Linked DNA regions of Homo sapiens: region 2 is linked to region 1. Evidence: promoter capture Hi-C in human tissues and cell types (Jung and others, 2019). All regions are on one chromosome and are shown on one strand. Each heading gives the region's core, a stretch centred on a gene start or on the middle of the fragment in contact. The rest is flanking DNA. Distances are from core to core; before and after follow the strand shown.

Region 1 (6,169 bases), core at 2,392-4,891:
AGGCCTTGATCACAGCAGCCCCTTTCTCTGTATACCATTCCCTTCAACCTCAGCAGGGCACTCAGCAGAATGCCAGAGAGGCAACCAGACTCCATGTCTCTGTACAGTCCCATGCTGTCTGTCCCTCACCATGTCAGGGCCAGAGCTCCTGTTTCCAGAGAGCCCTCCATGGAGAAAACAGCCAATTCAAAAGGCCAAGCAAAGACCGCTGGCCACTCCCATTCTCATATTCAAGCTCCCCCATTTCTCCTCTCGAGCAATCAACAGGGAGATGTTACCTGGGGCTGTGCTGCTGTGGTATTGAAGCTGAACTGCTCCCCAGTCCTGCAGGGCAGAGAAGAGCCCCCACCAGTCACCCCCGGAGCCTGGGGAAGAACCAGCCCCCGTGGTCCCCTCACTCTACCCTGCAGACCTGAGCACAAAATCGTCCATGCGGCTGACCCGGAGCTGGTATGTGGTGTTGACTGGTGACAGGGTGGACACATCCACGTAGAAGAACTGAATCTCCGACTCATTCTTGGTGGGGGGCTGACACAGGGTTCGTTCCACTTTTTGGTAGAGGTACTTGCGCTGAAACCTATGGCCCGAAGCAGGGAGATAGGATGTGAGCACTGTCCCAGCCGGCCTGCCCCTCCAGAGGAGCGAGGCCCCACCTCGCCCCGTCTGGTCTCCACCACCTCCCTGCGAGGTGCACAAGCTCCCGGCTGGTGGGACTCGGCCCTTGTGCTGTTGACCAGCCTCCCAGCCCAGGGAAAGGGGAGGAGAAATGGGGGGGCTCCTGGTTGAGGCTCCAGCCAAGGACTGGCCTAGGCTGCCCCGCTTCCCTGATGCCCAGATCCTACTCACATCCCTCGCAGGATTAGGGGCACCTGGAAGGACACCACAGCCTCCTTCTGGCGGACCACAAACAGCAACGGCGCCCCCTTCTGCTTGTTCAGGACGTTCACAGACACACGCACGCCCTCTGTCTGCAGAACGACATGGAAATGCCTCTCAAGCCTCTGCCACCAGGGACACGTGGCTCCAGAGACTATGAGCCCTGCCCTCCTTCATGCCAGCTACTTTGGTCTTTCTCCATCTTGGTCGGGCCAGGGAGTCATCTCTGCCTCTTCTTCTGCCAGAACAACCCCCAGACTCCAGGAAAGACCTGTGCTGAGTGCAGCTCCTGGCCGGCAGACATGTGCAGGGCAGCAGGACCCAAGCAACCGCAGGGTCTCACCCTCTGCCAGGAAACACGGTGGAGGCCTTGCGAGTCTCCAGGATACCCCATTCCTATCCATGTGCACAGGATGCACAGGCCTGCACACACAAACGTGTACACACGCCCCCACACACGAAGACACAGGAGAACAAGAAGTGCTCCTCAACCTTCCTGTGAGCCAGGAAGCCAGCAGGAAGCTCTAGTTAACAGCTAACCTGGGGCCAGAGCCCAGAGGAGTTGAGGAGGGGTAGGTATTGAAGGCCATGTTGTATCCTTAGCTCCCACCAAGGGACAGGGCTGTGGAGAAGTCACTTTACTTCTCTAAGCCTCAACTTCTCCCTCTATAAAATGACAGCCGGGTGCGGTGACTCACGCTTGTAGCACTTTGGGAGGCCAAGGCAGGAGGATCATCTGAGGTCAGGAGTTTGAGACCAGCCTGGCCAACATGGTGAAGCCCCATCTCTACTAAAAATACAAAAATTAGCTGGGTATGGTGGCAGGCGCCTGTAATCTCAACTACTTGGGAGGCTGAGGCAGGAGAATCGCTTGAACCGGGAAGGCGGAGGTTGCAGTGAGCTGAGATCACAAAACTGCACTTCAGCCTGGGCAACAGAGTGAGACTGGTCTCAAAAAAAAAAAAAAAAAAAAAAAGATAAAGTGATCTTCACCCTTGGAGCTATGAAGGAACATATATAAACAATGGGAGCTTAAAGGAAAAATAAAACCAAATCGATCTTGGAATGCTTGTTATTGGGCTGCTGAAACCCAAGCCCTAGGGCAGCATTTCCCAAAAGAGTAAAAACCACAGCTCTCCAGTGCCTTTAGATATGGGAAAAAAGGAAGAAAGGACTCTAAGCAGAAAGAGATCAAACTTCAGAGAACCAGGCACTGGGGGCAGATCCTGGCCTGCCACAGAAACCAAACCACTCCCCGTTCTGAAAAAAAATCAGATTCCCCATTCTCAACTCCATTGCTTCTCAGTAAACGGCAGTCATGGAGAGAGAGCAAGAGACCCGGGCACGAGACCACACAGCCAGGTTGCAAGAATTCTCCCAATCTCAGCTCTGCCTGGGGTCTAGACTTCCCACACTAGCTGTGTCTATTTCAACTCAGGGACTCACAGCTGGTGAAGAAACCAAAGAGAAGTCAGGGTGAAGTGGATTTTTCACAGTGGACAAATTCCCCTTCTCTTCCCACCCAACTTGCAGTTGGCCTTATAAAACCTCTGTCACCCTCAATTTACAAGGCCAGCTGGCTCTCCCAGGCAGGAAGAGGGCTGGGAAGCCCTGCATTCATCTCCCTGGGGAGTCTGAGATGTAACTTGCCTGCACAGAGCTTTTCAGTTCTGGGCCAGTCTCATTCCCCTGAGGTTTTCTGGGCAAGCCCAGTAATAAGCCTGTTTCCTCTCCCACCGAGACCCCACAGAGCTGTCAGATTCTGGGGTTTAGGGTAGAGAGCAAGCCATGTGTGCTCAGACCACAACTGATGGAAGAATGGGGGCGGAAGAGAAGATGGGAATGAGCCAACTTCAAAAACTGCCCAGCTGGAGCTTCAGAGAAACATTGGTGGCAAAGGAAGGAGGACTGGTCAAGAGGCTCCAGTGTGGTTCTGGGAACTGGGAACCTAGCAGGACAGCTCGTTCCTGGGGCCTCCCAAAAGGGTAGCGGGGCGGCAGAATCGCCTAGCCCTCGTCGGCTTCCCCACTCGCCTCTGGCCCCTAAGCCCCCAGCCCTCACCCTGTTGCGGGTCACAGTATGGTTGAAGGTGTAGATGTTGACCAGCTCGCTGTTGACCTCGTCCACGTAGGTGCGCTCAAACTCGGCGTCTTTCTGCGAGACGTTCTTGGGCCCCAGAACCCCCAGATGGCTCTCGACCGAGGCCACCAAGAGCACCAAGAAGGGCAAGCCCAGAGCGAACATGGCCCCGGCAGGGCGGCAGTGGCAGCGGTGGTGGCGGCGGCGGCGGCGACAGGAGACAGGACACCTCCGGGACGGGTTGCGGCTGCGGCCGCAGCTTCCAGCATCTCACCAGGACCAGAACTTTAACCCCGGCCTGAGATTAGGAAATGTCCCCTCCCAAGAGCCCCGAAGAGGCTCCCAGGGTCCCCGCAGGGGAGGGGGCGGCCGGGAGGGGGCGGGGAGGGAGGGGATGCTGGCTACGGGAAGGGGTCCCAGCTCGCGAGGGGCTGAGTACGACCTGAGACCCTGGAGCCCCGGGCCAGGGCCGTGAGAAGGAGGGCGGCTGGTTGCCGGGAGCCTGGAGACGCCGGGAAAGGGGAGGGAGGAAGAGCCGGCGGCGGGGGCTGGCCGCGGAGGAAGGCGAGTCGCAGAGTGAGGGGCGTGATAGGTGGTAGCTACCCGACGCCGTGCTGGGCTGCGAGTTTTCCGAGGTGCGGGCCCTTTAAGGGCGGGCGGACGCGCCGTCCCGACGCACGAACACTGAAAAGTGAGCTGCGCCGCTGGGCGATAAACAGCAGGGCTGCTGGCCCGCCCGCTGACGTCAGGGGAAACTGACACAGATTTAAAGGACCAGGTCCCGCATTTGCCCTTAAAGGGGCTGCAGCTGTCTAGCTGAAGGGGAAAGCTTGCAATGCCTTCTCCAACTCCTACCCAACTCTCTCCCGTGATTTTCACCATCTCTGAAACTCACGTTGGAATAGGCAGATGTTTCTGTTAACAATCTCCAAGTGTTGGGTTCTTGCTGAACAACTCTTACATTTGCTCAAACATAAGGATTCCCCCACCCCCACCACCACCTTTACAACTAACATCGTCCAACCCTGGGCCACTTTTTCTCCGGGGATCTTAAAAAATGAAAAACTCGAAGGATTAGGAAACAGGACGGTGGCCCTACCGGCGGAGGGGAAACGGAGGCAGCACTGCAGGAGGAATCCCCATGCCTTTCCCACCTCCCTCTAGAGGGGCCACACAACTGCAGGGACGGCCTTCCGAGCTTTCCAAGCTTGCCGGGCTGTTTCCCCTCTTCTCTCAGAGACAGTTACAAAACTCATTGAAAGATACTGACCTTCAGTGTAAATTGGTGAAAACTTTTCTACAAAATATTTTGGCACTGTTTCAAGAAACTTAGAGAGCTTTATACCCTTTGATCCAGTAATTCCACTTCTGGACTCTATCCTAAGGAAATAGGAAGCACAGATAAAAATACCTGGGCAGCTACGCTTATCACTGTGATATTTATAATATAAAGCAAAAAGGAAATGACTTGGATATCCATAATGAGGGATTGGTTAAATGCACTATCATGAAGGCATCAAAAATGATGCTTAAGACTTCACAGGACACGTAAGCAGAGAATTCAGGATATGACACTAAATAAACAGTATATAGAGCCAGGTGCCGTGGCTCACACGTGTAATCCCAACACTTTGGGAGGCCAAGACAGGTAGATCACTTGAGGTCAGGAGTTCGAGACCAGCCATGGCCAACATGGTGAACCCCATCTCTACTATAAAAATACAAAATTAGTGGGGCGTGGTGACGCGTGCCTGTAATCCCAGCTACTGGGGAGGCTGAAGCAGGAGAATCGCTTAACTCTACCAGGCGGAGGTTGCAGTGAGCTGAGATCATGCTCCTGCACTCCAGCCTGGGCTGCAACAGAGCAAGACTCTGTCTCAAAAATAAATAAGTAAATAAAACCGTATATATTCCAAATGCATATAGACATGCATAGAAAAATAGAAAAAAATTGTACTAAACATTTAGCAATGTCTCCAGAAAGCAGGGCAAATTTTAAAAATAAAATTTAGCAGTAGTTATCTTTGAATTACAATTTTAAAAATAACACATATTGTATATCATTTTCCTTTAATTCTAAAAATATAGAGTAGTACCAAAAAATAAAAAATAATGGATTGTGAGTGGTTCTTAAATTTTATTTTTTATATTTAAAAAGATTTACAAATGTTCTACAATGTATATATATTTATATATTGCTTTTTTATCTGCCGGGGGGTGGAGACAGGGTCTCGCTCTGTTGCCCAGGTTGGAGTGCAGTGGCACAATCTCAGCTCATTGCAACCTCTGCCTCCTGGGTTCAAGCAATTCTCCTGCCTCAGTCTCCCGAGTAGCTGGGATTACAGGCCATGTGCCACCACGCCCAGCTAATTTTTGTATTTTTGGTAGAGACGGGGTTTCACCATATTGGTCAGGCTGGTCTCGAACTCCTGACCTCAGGTGATCCACCCACCTCAGTCTCCCAAAGTGCTGGGATTATAGGCATGAGCCACCATGCCTGGCCACATATATTGCATTTATAAGACAAATTAGACTTTTTTTTTTTTTTTTTTTTGAGATGGAGTCTCACTGTCACCCATGCTGGAGTACAGTGGTGTGATCTCAGCTCACTGCAATCTCCGCCTCCTGAGTTCAGGCGATGCTCCTGCCTCAGCCTCCCAAGTAGCTGGGACTACAGGCACCCGCCACCACACCCTGCTAATTTCTTGTATTTTTAGTAAAGCGGGGTTTCACCATATTGGTCAGGCTGATCTCGAACTCCTGACCTCGAGTGATCCACCCACCTAGGCTTCCCAAAGTGTTGGGATTACAGGCGTGAGCCACTGCGCCCGGCCAAATTAGACATGTTTAAAGGAAAAGAAATGTGGCCACCTCTGAAGCTGTCAGACATCCTAATAAAGCCACCCAGATCAGTGCCTTGTCAGAGTTCTCTCAGCTGGCAGGATTGCAGCAGTCTCAGCTCCCAGCCCTGCCCAACTATCTGGAGCCTTGTTCCAATGAAGACTATTTTACCTTATGATCAGTTAGTTATATTTACTCATTCCTGCAATAAATATTTAATAAGCATCCACGATGTGCCAGGTACTGTTGTAGTTATGCTGGGCAAATGGTGAGTGGAGGAATTAGTTTTGGCCCCTGTCCAAGCACAGCATACTTGAGGATGAAGACCAGAAGCAAGCTGCACCCCTTTTCCAAAGGGTTCACCAATTAGAAA
Region 2 (5,506 bases), core at 908-3,407, 210 kb after region 1:
TCTCTTTCTGTCCTCCTTCTTTCCTGCTCTTCCCTCTTTTTTTTTTTGAGACGGAGTCTTGCTCTGTCACCCAGGCTGGCATGTAGTGGTGTCATCTCGGCTCACTGCAACCTCCACCTCCCAGGTTCAGGCGATTCTCCTGCCTTAGTCTCCCAAGTAGCTGGGACTACAGGCATACACCACCATGTTTGGCTAATTTATATATATATATATATATATATATATATATATATATATATATATATATTTTAGCAGAGACGGGTTTTCACCATGTTAGAGAGGCTGGTCTTGAACTCCTGACTTCAAGTGATCTGCCCGCCTCAGCCTCCCAAAGTGCTAGGATTACAGGTGTGAGCCCTGCACCTGGCCTCTTCCCTCTCTTTTTTTTAGGGCTTTGAGGCATCCTTTTCAACAGCTCCTTAACCTTAAAATTAAGCCATCAATCCCATTCTAAGTATCTCCCTCTTAAACTTCTGCAATTTGTTTAATCTGAAATAAACACCTGAAAATAGAAAATTGAATATCTATATTTTGTAAATAATCCTGATTGACCTTTATTTTTATTGTCAACTCTCTTTTCCTCCACTCCTTTTTTTTAAAAAAAAAAAATTGTTGAATACATTTAAGTGATAAACCTGTAGGACAAGAGTTGATTTAACTATAAAACATTGTTGGCACTTTGCAACAATAACAATCATGTCAGTATGCCTGAGAGAGTTGCTCATAATATTGGAGACACTCGTAGGCTTCTGTTTTCTGAGAGGGTAAATGTCAACCAGATGGGAATTACTGGAACTGAGAAATCATTTTCTTTTTGTCTTTAAAAATTTCTCTTCTATATCTTGAATTTCAAGTAATCACAGAAAATTTCCTTTGCTTCAGATACCATTTACTAATTTTGCACAGTATACCATTTTCCAACTTATTTTCCCACTTTCAGTAAACTTTCTGTTCTCTATCCAGACATTGGAAATGCATGAACTATTTTACAGTCACCATTCAGTACAGCCTAGAGGGCAGAAAAATAAAAGTTCAACCACTCACCTAAAAAGCACTATACATTTTATTGTATTTTATTATTATTATTATTATTATTTTTGAGATGGAGTTTCGCTCTTGTTGCCCTGGCTGGAGTGCAGCGGCGCCATCTCGGCTCACTGCAACCTCCGCCTCCTGGGTTCAAGCGATTCTCCCTGCCTCAGCCTCCCAAGTAGCTGGGATTACAGGTGCCCACCACCACACCTGGCTAATTTTTGTATTTTTAGTAGAGGTGGGGTTTCACCATGTTGGCCAGGCTGGTCTCGAGCTCCTGACCTCAAGTGATCTGCCTACCTCGGCCTCCCAAAGTGCTGGGATTAGAGGCATGAGCCACCGTGCCTGGAGTGCTATACATTTTAAATTATAGTTGTTAACCACTTTCTGTGGAGTTTATTGAAAGCTGCCTGACCCTTATCTTTGCTGGCCATGTAGAGTCCTTGTGTCTCGAGTTGGCTAGCATCCTTGCATCCCAGCCATTCCTTAGGCTTGACAGCTGCATATTTTCCCAGAAACAGTTGTGATTGGTGTGTATAATGAATAGAATAACCTGTTCTTTCCAAATATACATCCCTGTTTTGCCCCTTAGTACTTGATTTGACTAATTGTTTCAAGCTGAAATATAGACTTCAATTAAAAAATTGGAAGCCAGGTGTGGTGGCTGTTGCGTGTAACCCCAGCACTTTAGGAGACTGAGGTGGGAGGATCCATTGAGACCAGCCTGGGCAACATAGTGAGACCCTGTTGCTACAGAAAATTAAAAAATATATATTATCCAGGTGTGGTGGTGTGTCCCTGTAGTCCCAGCTACTCAGAAGGCTGAGGTGAGAGAATGGCTTCAGCCCAGAAGGTTGAGGCTGCAGCGAGCTATGGTCGTGTCACTGCACTCCAGCCTGGGTAACAGTGCAGACGTTAGGATCTTCCCAAGAATGTGGCCAGCCTACATCCTGACCTTGGTCATGTGGCACGTTATTAATCATGGCCATTTAATGTGTAACAGGTTGCATTCAAGAGCCTAGCTTGTGTTGGTTTGGGGTTCTTTTAAATTTGTTTTCTGTTGACAATTCTATTTTCTAGTAAATTTTAAATAAAAATGTTTTTTCATTAAGGCTGATTCCAAAGGTACTTAAGTTCCTTTCTAGCCAGCCATTCTTAGCTGGGTCCTGTGAAAGCATTATGCCCTATAGAAAAGAAAATTGAGTGACTATTTTCTCAGTTCTCCCAAACATGGTACTATTCTAGATGCATTGAAGAGAAGTCAATTCATTACATACAGTGATGCTTTAAGGGCAGTTGTTCTCAGAGTTTGATTCAGGGATGTCATAGACTCCAATACTGTTTCAGTGGGTCCCCTAGGTCAAAACCATTTTTAAAGAAATGCCACAACATTATTTTCACTTTTCATTCATAGTCTCTCACAATTATAAAATAGAGATTTCCAGAGACTATGCTATGTATGATGCTGCAATTGCTCTGATGACCAAGGAGATGTGTGGTTGTATACACGTGTCTTTTAAATTTTTGTCTTAATTTCTGATTTTTAATTTGATTTCTAAGCAAATATTGAAAGATATTACTCACATAATCAAAACTTCTTTGAAGTTTCTCCTAACTTTTAAGAGAAGGAGTCCTGAGACCAAACAGTTTGGGAACTGCTGTCTTAAGGCTGTAAGACTTAATTCTCTGAGAGAACCCCTCCTGGGAATGGCTGCACACAAGGGCAGTACAGTAAACCAGTCAGTTGCTCAATAGACATTTTAAAAATTGAATTAAATTGAGCTCCTAGAATATAACTTTTGAGACCTTATTTGAGATTTTCTCCCAAGGCAATGTTTGAGCATTGAGAGCCTTGTAACTTGGGCCAGGTTTCTGTGAGATAGACAGTTGGCAATTCTCAATATCAAGTCAATGATTTCAGAAGTCATTTTCAAGGAATACGTCCTTTAACTGGTAGATTAATTATGTAGCCTGTTGGCATTATGTGGATCAGTGCCGTCCAAGAGAAAGAGGGCACATATATTATTTACAATTTTTAAATAATCATATTAAAAAAGTAAAAAGTGGTGAAATTAGTTTTAATATCTTTTGTTTAGCCTAATATATCTAAAATATTATAATTTCCACATGTAATCAATATAAAAATGTATCAGGGAGATAGTTTAATTCTTTTTTATATTACTATCTTTGAAATCTGGTATATATTTTACATTTATAGCGCATCAGTCTGGATAGTTACACGTGGCTGGTGCCTACTGTATTACACTGTACAGATCTAGATCATAAAATAGTTGTAGAGCTGAGCCGAGAATGTTCTAGAGTAGATAAGCTTTGTCATAAAAATAGAGAATAAAAATTTTGCTACAGAAGTTAGTATAAAAACATAACCCCATTGAAAAAAGCTTACAATGACAAAATGTTTGATATCTGCCTAAATTCTAAAGACATTTCTAAAAGAAATAGAGCTCTTTCCTTAAAACAAATTTTTTAAAAAAATAAGCTTTTCTTCAAACTGTAATGTTTTCTCTTTCCTTCTAAAAAGCATGCAGTCTGCTCACTATATTCTTTGAAATTACTGTATGTTCATCTGCATACCAGTGTAAGGAGATCCTCTTTCTCGTCTTGGAAGAATTTGAGCCCTTGTGATCTTTGCATTTCCCTCCTACGTAGTTCTTTCTTGAACTGTCCATTTGTCCTGGCATATCCCTGAATCCGTACTATCTGCTATAGGGCATTTATTTCTGATGGGGAAGGGTGGTTTGTTTTGATCTTAATGCTGAACTGTCCCTTAGTTCATTGTCTTTTACTCTGTTGCCGTATCTTGCTTACAAATATGGTGTCAGAATATGCAAGTGAATTTATTGCCTGTTGTGAAGAAACCACTATTTTTTTCAGCTTCATTCACTATGAACATTATTGTGCTTACAAAAGTGAGTTGAGTTAAAAAGAACTGTGTTTTTTAGAAGTGAGAATTAAAAGGGAGAAATAGTAATTTTTCCTCTCATAGAATGAATAATAAAGAACTATGACTTTAAATTTGGCATGATCTAAATTTAATTTTTTTCCTACCACATGCCAATTGAAACAGAAGAATTTGTTGAATGGGAATGTCTTGAGTAGGGAAATTAAGGACTCTCACAATCTGTTATCTCTTTAGTAGCATACTTGATACAGTGTCATGTTTAATTAATATTAGAATGTCAATTTACAAAATCATGCTCTTTGGAAGATAAAAGAATTCTGTGTAGAACAGGCAAACTTAGGAAATATATGGTCTCTTGGTAACATGTTGGAAGTTTTCTGCTTTGTTATAATTTTCATATGTAAGTACAATTAGGAGATTTATAGATTTTCAACCCCAATATAATAACATTCTTTGAGAGTTTATCTTTTCTTTACCTACTGATTTACCTTTGTTGTGGACACATTCAGTTTTTCAAGCAACTGGTGTGTACTTTACACCAAAACCTTTATTATATAGTCTTCAGTAATCTGTAGCTGTGAAACTCATACTCATTTATCTGTTTAGATATTCTCAAAACAATCATACCTGTGTGCCAGCCACCTGCTGTCTGACTTGGCAGTTTCTCTGTTCCAACTTTATTTTTCTGCTTTTTAGAAAACTCCCACTTTCCAGTTTGCAGCTAAGGTAGGAGCTGAGTTCCTTTCCCTGTTAAGTGGTCTTATCAGGCAGTTATGCCATTGCCAAGCAACAGTAAGTTCTCTCCTCTCAGGTGTTAGCTAGTAGGTAGGGTTGGCAAGGGGAGCCTGGCCTGCTGTGAAGAAGTAGACCAGTGTCTCTCTGCCACAGCCCTCAGGGTCGGGTCTTGCTGTGGGTTCCATCCTATGGCTCACTGTGACTTTCCTGAATGGAATGCGTTTATTTTTTTTCCAGCTCTGTTCTTTCCATGTTCTTCCCACATCAGCTGGCGGCAGCCAGTTGGTTCTGAATGCTGCCCACAAATTGTTAGCTATTTTGCTTCTTGGTCCCTCAATTTGTCCCTTGAATAAGGAATTGATGTGTTTCAGATCCAGGATTATGTTGCTTAGTGAAGCAAATCTAATCCTTGCCAAGGAATGCCTAAAGTTGAAGGCTTGATTCCAGAAGAAAATAAAATAACAACAGCACTACCTGTAATTAACATATATTGCCTGTTTACTGTGCCAGGCATTATATTAATCAGGTTGCATGTATTAGCTTTGTTAATCCCCAAAATCACTTTAAAGTAGGTTCCATTGTTGCCCACATTTTACAGATAGGGAGCCATTGGAAAATTAAGTAACCTGTTCTAGGTTATATATTAAGGGATAGTTCCAAGATTTTGAATCTAAGTAGCTTGTCTTCAGAGTCCTTGCTTTCAGTACTATATTCAACTGCTAAATAAAGCTTCACTTTGGTTTTTTTGTTTTGTTTTGTTTTTTTGTTTTGGAGAAAGTGTCTCATTCTGTTGCACAGATTGCAATGCAGTGGCGT

What was found. The method cuts DNA at HindIII sites, captures the fragments that hold promoters and counts their contacts. A contact is called where the count stands out against the background at its distance.
Region 2: a contact is called between a fragment that was not itself captured here and the fragment with the promoter of SIDT2 in region 1, in 2 of the 25 tissues and cell types used here (hippocampus and pancreas).

The regions. Positions count from the first base shown.
Region 1 is chr11:117,176,215-117,182,383 of GRCh38, reverse strand. SIDT2 (SID1 transmembrane family member 2) reads right to left here and starts at 3,641. Exons shown (of 26, transcript NM_001040455.2): 1 at 2,938-3,641; 2 at 847-968; 3 at 413-577; 4 at 279-324. The coding sequence starts at 3,120. It also overlaps a transcript of PAFAH1B2 not described here. RefSeq lists silencers at 666-725, 3,333-3,542 and enhancers at 164-959, 1,196-1,255, 2,283-2,352. The HindIII fragment of the contact is 11,732 bases long and covers 1-3,973 here.
Region 2 is chr11:116,960,476-116,965,981 of GRCh38, reverse strand. All of the region lies in intron 1 of SIK3 (SIK family kinase 3), which reads left to right. Among named protein-coding and RNA genes, the nearest start is that of APOA1, 130 kb to the right of the region's middle. RefSeq lists a silencer at 1,382-1,582. The HindIII fragment of the contact is 8,386 bases long and covers 1-5,506 here.